Regions from separate parts of the Homo sapiens genome. Here region 2 is linked to region 1. Evidence: promoter capture Hi-C in 16 types of primary human blood cells and fetal thymus (Javierre and others, 2016). All regions are on one chromosome and are shown on one strand. Each heading gives the region's core, a stretch centred on a gene start or on the middle of the fragment in contact. The rest is flanking DNA. Distances are from core to core; before and after follow the strand shown.

The links. The method cuts DNA at HindIII sites, captures the fragments that hold promoters and counts their contacts. A CHiCAGO score of 5 or more calls a contact.
Region 2: a fragment that was not itself captured here is called in contact with the fragment with the promoter of RAB34 in region 1 in 1 of 17 cell types (naive B cells); the score reaches 5.5 in naive B cells.

The regions. Positions count from the first base shown.
Region 1 is chr17:28,715,099-28,719,735 of GRCh38, reverse strand. It overlaps RAB34 (RAB34, member RAS oncogene family), which reads left to right and starts at 1,868. Exons shown (of 10, transcript NM_031934.6): 1 at 1,868-2,523; 2 at 2,742-2,833; 3 at 3,678-3,743; 4 at 3,835-3,936; 5 at 4,031-4,095; 6 at 4,229-4,280; 7 at 4,460-4,541; 8 at 4,614-4,637. The coding sequence starts at 2,470. RefSeq lists enhancers at 187-236, 1-494, 495-1,095 and a silencer at 1,776-2,035. The HindIII fragment of the contact is 7,301 bases long and covers 1-4,637 here.
Region 2 is chr17:28,498,659-28,503,295 of GRCh38, reverse strand. No RefSeq gene overlaps it. Among named protein-coding and RNA genes, the nearest start is that of FOXN1, 5.4 kb to the left of the region's middle. RefSeq lists a silencer at 1,952-2,148. The HindIII fragment of the contact is 4,283 bases long and covers 496-4,637 here.

The DNA of each region.
Region 1 (4,637 bases), core at 619-3,118:
AGTGGCGCGATCTCGGCTCACTGTAAGCTCCGCCTCCCGGGTTTACGCCATTCTCCTGCCTCAGCCACCAGAGTAGCTGGGACTACAGGCGCGTGCCACCATGGGGATTGTAGTTTTTTGAAGACACGCGTTTATTTGCTCAGGCCAGCGGACGGCGTAGCCGGCTGGCGCTCGGGTCTGGTCCCGGGAGCTTCCTATCTTGAGCAACTGCCAGTCTCAGGGAAGAGGATTGCCATGCCAGGAGGCAGGAACGCTGCCAAGAGGAAAGAACACATTTGGATTGACTCGGGAGTTAGATACAGCTAAGTTCTAGAGTGCTGGAGCAGGATTTGCTCGGTCGAACTGAGGTCCAGAGAGGAATGTGGTTTATCAATAACACAGTGATTTGGTGGCAGAAAAAAATCAAGTCAGGGCCGGGCGCGGTGACTCACGCCTGTAATCCCAGCACTTTGTGAGGCCGAGGTGGACGAATTGCTTCGAGCCCAGGAGTTCGAGACCACCCTGGGCAACACGGCGAAACCCTGTCTCTACAAAAGAATACAAAAATTAGCCGGGCGTGGTGGTGCGTGCCTGTAGTCCCAGTTCCTTGGGAGGCTGAGGTGGGAGGATCGCTTCAGCCCTGGAGGTCGAGGCTGCAATGAGCCATTCCAGCCTGGGTGGCAGAGTGAGACCCTGTCTCAAAATAAATAAATAAATAAATAAATAAATAATCGAGTCACGAGGGGGAAGTGTCAGAGGAAGTACAAGGCGGCCACACCTGCCCCTCTTTACCTGCGACACTGATACTGTCAAGTTTTACTGCGTTTCCTGATAATGCATTTGAAGTTCTATGAAAATTCCACACATTTCTCCAAGATTCGCTAGTTTTTCCGGTTAGTAACTTCACTCACAATCCCCTGCCCTAAACTAGTCTTCCCTTCCGTGTCCTGGTCATCTTTACATCCTCAAATTCAGCTCCAGACACAGAGAAAGGTTTCTTAACACTCAGGTTCGCTTCTCCTAAGGTGTGTGCCTAACCCATCCCCACTTGATCCTTTCTTCTTCCCTCTCCCTTCATAAAACCAGACATGTCCCCTTTGACGGTGAAATTGATTGTGCACTGCCCCCTCTTCTATCCTGCAGGACTTTGCACAAAGGAGTTGTCCCTGGGGGATAGATTCCAATGGGGCCAGAACAATGAACACCCATACCAGAGGGGAGTCCCCGCCTCCCAGAGCGGAGACCACCCCGAAGAGCAGAGTTTCCGGGTCCACTTAGCCCTTCTTTAACCTCCCTCGAGGGAACTTGATCTTCAGCCCTCCCACCTCACAATCTACACAGCAGCCTTGAAGGAAAAGACGCCAGACTTCAGACGTCTCTCTCCTCGGTGGGCACCTCATTCTAACCCTGGCACCCCCTTCGCACGCTTCCCCTCCACCATCCTCACCCCCGACCTCCCAGGGCAGAAGGGCGAGAGGGGGCAGACTCTATGAGTCACCTCCCAGGCCTGGAGTTGAGGAGGGAAGCGCCGCCTCTCCTTGGGCCCCTTCTCTCCCCCTTTCCCCTCCCTGCTGGTTCCTGGCATCGCCAGATGCTGCGCAGCAGTCTCCGATTCCCCATCACCAATTCGGCTGGGTAAGGGTCCCCATGAAGGCGCAGCCGGGTATAGAGGTGCAGGGGAGAGCAGCCTGGGGAGTCCCTATCTGGATAGGCTCCAGCCTGGGTCGGGGCGGTCCTGGTGCCCGGTGAAGCGTCAAAAGAGGGAGCCTGAGCGGGGCAACGCAGAAGGGTGGAGAGGAGGGGGTGGCGAGGGCGGGCAGCGAGGCCTGGAGCCGCCAGGAGAGGGGCGGGGGGCGGCCCTTCTCCAGGAATTTCCGGGGATCGTGTTACAGCGTTGGCGGAGCCCGAGCGGAGTGGGACTCGAGGCCCTGTAGCCGGACTGGGCCCCTCGCCCCCTCCTCCAGCGGCCTGCGGGCCTTGGCAGCGCCGCCCCTGCCCACACTGACCCCGTGTGGCGGGGCCGCTCCGCGCCCCCGGGCCGCTCTGTAATGGTAGGGCAGCCTCAGCCCCGAGATGACGTCGGGTCTCCGCGGCCCCGGGTTATTGTAGGAACCATCCGGCCCCGCGTAATCGTAGGAACTATCCGGCCCCGCGTAATCGTAGGGTCTGCGCGGGCCCGGCCCCCACCAGACGGGACTCCCCGCCCCCAATTGGCGGCCGAAGAGTCTCCTCGCCCCAGAGTCATCTTCGGGACGCCCAGGGCCCGGGTGATTTTGGGCTCGCCGCGGCCCCGGGTGATTGTTTCATCTCCGTGGCCCGCGGTGGTCGTAGCGTCTCCGAGACCGCGGACTCCCGTAGGGTCCCCGTGGCCCCGAGTTGTAGTCGGGACACCCCGGCCGCGGGTGATCGTCGGGTCTCCACGCGCCCGGGTCGCTGACGCGGATCCGGCCTCGGCGCCTTCTCAGGGCGCCCTGCAAGGCCGCAGGCAGGATGAACATTCTGGCACCCGTGCGGAGGGATCGCGTCCTGGCGGAGCTGCCCCAGGTAGGCGCCGGGGCCACGTCGGGCTTCAGTCTACAGCCCGGGGTGTGGGCGAGGAGGAGGCGGCACCAGACCAGTTAGAGGACTGGGCCCAGCCCTGCCACCCAGCTAGGCCTGGTGCTTCTGGGTGGTCCCTGCACTCCACCCCTACCCGGGCCGCTTGGCTGCGGGACAAGGGCCAGGAGTAGGAAGCTCCATTCTCTTCCATCCTTCCCACTAAGTGCCTGAGGAAGGAGGCCGCTTTGCACGGGCACAAAGACTTCCACCCCCGCGTCACCTGCGCCTGCCAGGAGCACCGGACAGGCACCGTGGGGTGAGTTAGGGACACCCACAACAAAGAGAGGAGGTCCCAGGAAACTCTGTAGTCATAGCGAGGGTAAACAACCACCCCCTTGGGGCTTCATTTCAGCCCCTACCAGCTATATGGTTATTTCCCCCTCTTTAAGCCCCTGTATCCCCTCCTTTTCTCCCAACAAGGTTGTTGTGAGTTCTATGAGATGGGGTTGGGTAGAAGGGTGGCAGCTGGATTTCTGAGTAGAGACTAAGGTGTCTGAAATGGGAAGGTGGTCACCTGCTCAGATCCCCACATAGCATCCATGGAGCCCCAGGGCAGGGGTCTGGCTGTGCTTACAGGGATGAGTCTTATTGTGGGTTTTAAAGGTAATACTGATAACAGTTGGCACCATTAATTAAGCATTTGCTGTGTGCCAGGCAGTGTTGGGTACTATCATCTTTATTGAATGGAAAAGTCCATCACTTAAGATATATCCTGATTTCAGACATTAAAATGCGGGGGGGAGGGTGTCTTAGAATATAGGACATTTATCTCATTTTAACCTTCACAACGACCCAGTAAAATATATACTAACTTTACTTAAATGTTTAAACTGAGGCTTAGAGAGGCTAAATAACGTGTCCAAAGTCACACAGCTAATCAGTGTGAGAGCTGGGATTCAAATTCATGTCTCTCTGCTTCTGGAGCACAAAACACTCCTCCTCCCCAGCACACCTGTCCACGCAGCTGCCTGGGATGCCTGGTGTCTATAATACCCTCAGCCTGGGTGCAGCTACCTTTCTGGACCTAGTCGGGAGCATTGGAACTCCCTAGGGTGAAAGAGCTCGTGCCCACTCCCCTTGCCCACTCTTGTGTCCAGCAGATTTAAGATCTCCAAGGTCATTGTGGTGGGGGACCTGTCGGTGGGGAAGACTTGCCTCATTAATAGGTAAGGGGGTGCTGGAGCTGAGCTGGGCAGGGTGGGGCCAAGCCTAGCCAGGTGGGCTGGCTCCAGATCACAGCATCTGGTACCCTCTCAGGTTCTGCAAAGACACCTTTGATAAGAATTACAAGGCCACCATTGGAGTGGACTTCGAGATGGAACGATTTGAGGTGCTGGGCATTCCCTTCAGTTTGCAGCTGTGAGTGCTTCCACACCCCTTCCAGCTATCCCTTCTCCCCAGCACCCACACCCCCCAAGATACATACCTGTGCTTCACTCTTCCTTCCTTCCAGTTGGGATACCGCTGGGCAGGAGAGGTTCAAATGCATTGCATCAACCTACTATAGAGGAGCTCAAGGTAAGGGGCTGGGTGAAGTGGGGTAGGTGGGTCTCAGAGTGCACATGGCTTCTCATATGGAGCTGGAAGGATTGGGGAAATGAGCAGTAGTGTCTTCCCTGTCAACCTGGGGCTGTTTCTGCCACTCTTCCAGCCATCATCATTGTCTTCAACCTGAATGATGTGGCATCTCTGGAACATACCAAGTAAGTGAGCATCCTGCAATATAATGGGAGGCTCCGGGAAGAGAGGGTTCAGAACAGAGGGGTGGTCAGGAAGAAGAAGAATGCATGTAGGACCAGAGAGGGGGTAATTGGGCCTATGAATGTCAGTGGGAGGGGCCCTGCAGACTCACTCATCCCTTACTTTCCACCTCCCATGGCAGGCAGTGGCTGGCCGATGCCCTGAAGGAGAATGACCCTTCCAGTGTGCTTCTCTTCCTTGTAGGTTCCAAGAAGGATCTGAGTGTGAGTGTGCCAGTGGGGGGACTTCCCAGCTTGGTGAGGGAATGCCCCCCTCTGACTCTGGCCTTCCCTCAGACCCCTGCTCAGTATGCGCTGATG
Region 2 (4,637 bases), core at 1,388-3,887, 220 kb after region 1:
TAGTTTGGGGGAAGGGTAAATACATGAGAATAGCTTGGAGCTTTTTGAGAAAGAAGACTAACAGAGGTAACTTTCCCTGCCAGTTTTCAAAATGTTCAATAAGGCTTCCATAATTAAAGCTGCAACTTTGATACAGAAATAAATAAATTAATGGAAGATAATAGAGTCCAGAATAAACTTGGATATTTGTGAGAAATGGGAATATGATAACAAGGTATTTTAAAATAGATATATAATAGTAGGGTATTTTACTTTATTTTTCTGAGACAGGGTCTCGCTCTGTTGCCCAGGCTGGAGTGCAGTGGCAAGATCATAGCTCACTGCAGCCTCCACCTCCTGGACTCAAGTGATCCTCTCACTTCAGCCTCCCCAGTAGCTGGGACTACAGTTATACCATGCTCAGTTAGTTAAAAAAGAATTTTTTTTTGTAGAGATGGGGTGTTGCTCTGTTGCCCAGGCTGGTCTCAAACTCCCAAAGCACTGGTATTATAAGCTTGAGCCACGACATCTGGACTGTAAAGTATTTTAAAGTAGCAAGTAAAAAATTTAATAAATGGAGTTGGGGCAATGAACTTTCCATTGGAAAGAAATAAAGTTAAATCCTACTTCACACTGTACATTAAAAAATCTAGATGGATTAACAATCTAATGTAAAAATGAAAATCATACAAACAAATAGAAAAAATATAGGAAATATTTTTATGATTATGGAGTGGAGAAAGGCATTTTTAAACATGACATCAAATGCAGAAGCCATAAAGGAATACATTGACAGATTTGACTAAATAAAAACTGTAAATTTCTTTAGAGCAAAATGTAACATGAACAAAGTTAAAAGACATAACATAGCCTGGAAGAAAGTGTTGAAACATATGTAACAGATAGAGAGTTAATAGCCACAATATATAAGGAGCTCCTCTAAATAAATAAAAAGATGATTTCACAGAAAAATGGGCAAAGGACACAAGCAATTCACAGGTAAAATACAAACGGCCAAGACACAAGTGAAACGATTTTCAACTTCATTAAAAATCAAGAAAATGCAAATTAATTCAGGGGCCAAGGGTCTCAGGGAGGCCCTGATGGGATGCCCAGGAGAGACTGTAGTTATCACCTCCCACAGTGAGACTGCTTCTGGCGGGTGAGATGAACTTCTTTCTCTTCCAAATCAGGATCCACCTCTGCCCCAGGAATGGGTGTAGGCTCTGGCTCTGGCTCCCTCTTTCCTTTGGGAAGCATGACTTCCTCATTGCATGCAGTCTGGGAGTTGAAACAGGAACCTTGGGATTGCCACAGTCCTTGGACTGAAAGGGGATTTGTGAGGTGTTTCTCCTCTGTCTCTAGATAGGACCATCCCCTCCTTCTCTCATCACACCAGCCCTCCAGAATTCTCTCTTAGGCCCAGAAAGTCTGTCCTGGTGTCTAGCCTCAACTCCAGCTGCTGCAGTATTGGGAAAGGACTTTTGTCTGGAGTTTTGGTCCCACACACTCCAGCACCCTCATTTCAGGTCCTCAGATGGAGCTGAGCTGGGCTCTGGCCTGGAGGAGCTGCAGCTAGATGCTTAGACAGGCTGGGGCCAGAGAAAGCTCTGTCCCTCTGAATACTGGAGGTCAGAAGCAGTTCACTGTATGCTGCTGAGCTGTGCCCAGGGCTGGGCTGCTTTGGGCCAGAAAACAGCCCTGGCTGGGGATGGAAATCCCTGGGGCCCATGTCTGCTATGCTTCAGTCTGGGGAAAGACCCTAGGGACGCTAGGAAGAAGGAAGAGCATGTGCCCACCCTTGGGAGCCCCAATGTGATGGAGGAGGGGGACCCCTTCCTGAACCCTGCATCTGGATTGGCCATCTTCTGTCTGCTTCCGCTCATGCAGGCTGGACTTGCTTTTCCAAAGTGAGTTCCCAAGATTTGAGCCTGCTGCTTTCCAAGTCTCACTCCACTGGTGTGCAAGACACTGAAGAACATCCACAGAGGAACAGGGCCCAAGCAAAGCTGCCATGAGGCCCTGAGGCCCAGGGACCACATGTCAAAGAAGGGGTGGGGAGATCTGGGGTTAATTAGGGTGAGCTTCCTGGGGAAGAGCAGACAGCTCATTGGCTGTGGCTGATGGAGAAGCACCCAGAGCTGTGGAGGGCGTGTGGCGGGGCAGCTGGGCCGAGGTCTGAGCCTGTTCTGGTTGGCTGACCCCCTGGGAAATCCAGGGAGTTTCCAATCTGAGAGCTTGGTGGGGGGGTCGGTGGGGGAGGAACACAGAGTCCTGCTGGGTGGGGAGGGCTTCTCACCTCTTGTCTTAATCCCTCCTGCTGTGGAGGTGGGAGAAGCAATGCTGGGGTGTGTGTGTTTTCACTGGTGTCAGTGTCTGTGTAAGTACATGTGTACCTCTGCATGAGTGTGTACGTATTTACATTTGTGTTCTCACTTTCACGTGTCACCATGGGTGCGCCTGAAGTCTGTGGAGCTGTAATGTGCTACTGGGTATGTCCGTGCCAGAATCTGTGTCTAAATGTGGGTAGCCACATGCAGCGAGAACACTCAGGTCTGACACGGGGTGCGGAGGCGTCTGAGCGACTGTGTGTGTACAGGTGGCTGTGGCTGTGTATGTCTGTGTGTGTTTCTGGGGGTGGTCCTGTGTGTCTTTCAGGCTGTGAGAGCCTGTAATGTTGTATGCATGAGTGTTTGTGTGTGAATGTGTGTAACTGTGTGTTCCCGGGTATCCATGTCTGTGCATGTGTCTATGGGTTCTGTGGGTACCCAAGGATCTGTGACTCCACGTACACACATTTGTGGGTCTTTCCACCCTTCAGAGCACTCTTCTGAGTCCCCGTCACATTCTTTCCAACTAGGCTGCTCTGTTCCCTTCCTTGCCTTCTCCTCTGCACACCCCCTTCCCCTTCCCTTGCCAAACTGGGGTGGAGGCTGCAGGGTTGGAGACTGGTACTCCACCAGAACTTCACCCACCCAGTTCTACTCGACCCCTGACCCAACACTCCCTAGCTTCCTCCACCCTTCCCTCCCTCCTTCAGAAAGCAGCCTCCCCTCCAAGACTGTGAGGAGATAGGAAGTCATGGCCTGCGCCCCCAAGGAGCCTACTCTGGGGCCAATGACCTTAACCTCTAGAGCGCACTTTGGCCGGGGCCCAGGTCCAGGTGAACTCAGAGAGTGGTGTGGACAGCCCTGCTCCTGCCTCCACAAGCTCCCTAACAAGCTCCACCTATCCCTGGGCCCTGTGGTTGCCATAGAGGGCTGGTGCTGGCTGGCAGGAGGAGGGAGTAGGGAAACAGGGACACTCCCAGGACCTCAGGGGACAGGGTCAGGGGAACACTATGGGTCGGCTCAGAAATCTGGGCCTATCTGCTGAGCTTAAGGTGACATTGGCCCAGAGAGGTCAAGATATTTCTCAAAGTCACACAGCACTCCACACACGGCAGTCTGGAAAGAGGCTTGGAGGGGAGCGTGTCCAGCTTCCCTCTGGGAGCAAGAAGCTCCCGTATAGTTCCCACACATTCCTCCTTCATGCACTATTTGCTGTGCCAGGCCCTGTGGAGGAACTGGGGACACAGCTCGAATCAGGCAGACTGTCCTCAAGTCACTTCCAGACTTGTTGATCTTAGCAATGGGATGCTCACTACCGCAGAAGTTGTTGAGTCCCAGCACCGCACAAGTCCAGCTGGTAGGAGACACCCAAAGCTCACTGCTAACTTCCTAGAAGCCATCAATGATGGGGTGTGGGTGCCTGGGCAGCGAGGCTGCAGACTCAGTCCCAGCAGGGCCCATCTACCTGCCGCAGCCTGGAGTGTGTGTGGAGCCGAGCTGCCGGGCTGCCTGTGTAAACCTGACCTGGCTGGCGGGCCCTTCCTTCAAAGACTAGCCCAGGCCGTGCCGCTTTATTGCCCAGTTAATGATGGTGATTAGGCCGACAGGTGCCACCTGCTGCCTGTCCACCCTCCTGCCTGCTAAAGAGGGTGTTTTCTGAGCACCTAGGGGAGGCTTGGCCCCAGAGCTCTGCCAGGGCATCCACCGCAGCCAAACTGTCGACCCTCAGGCTGGCTGGCGTCCACCTCCTTCCTGGAGAATGCAGGGCCAACCGGGTGCTCACTTTCTGGGACTGCTGTGTGATCTCAGTCCACACCTGACCCTCTCTGAGCCGGACTGAGGGGGAAGTGTGCCGAGAACAGTGGGCAGGGCATGTGCACCCTGAGAAGCACACTCTCCTTTTCCCCAGCCAGGGTCCAGAAGGAAGTGGCAGCAGAGGGTCCTCCTTGCAGATGGAGCTGGGCTGCTCCTTAGGGAGCCACTGCATTGTGGGTAGGCCACTGGGGGAGCCCCAACATTCTGGGGCCAGCCGTTTCCAATGCAGGGGACTGTTGCCTGGGGCTTTGGTGGGTGGGAGGGGGTCCTCCTGTGGGTCTGAGTGGGAGCTGTGATTTATGGCTGTGCTTCATGAGTGAGGAATGCCAGCCTGGGGGACCAGGGTGGGGCTGGAGCCACCCGCCTGACACTCCTGGCTCTCTGGGATGCCTGGCGTGTCCTGTCAGGACCCCCTGTCCCCTGGGGACAGCCACGTACTCCCCCACGCAGTGCCCCCTCCTAACTGCACTTCCAACCCCCAGCTCTGGGAGGACCCAGTGAAAGCCCGGCCCA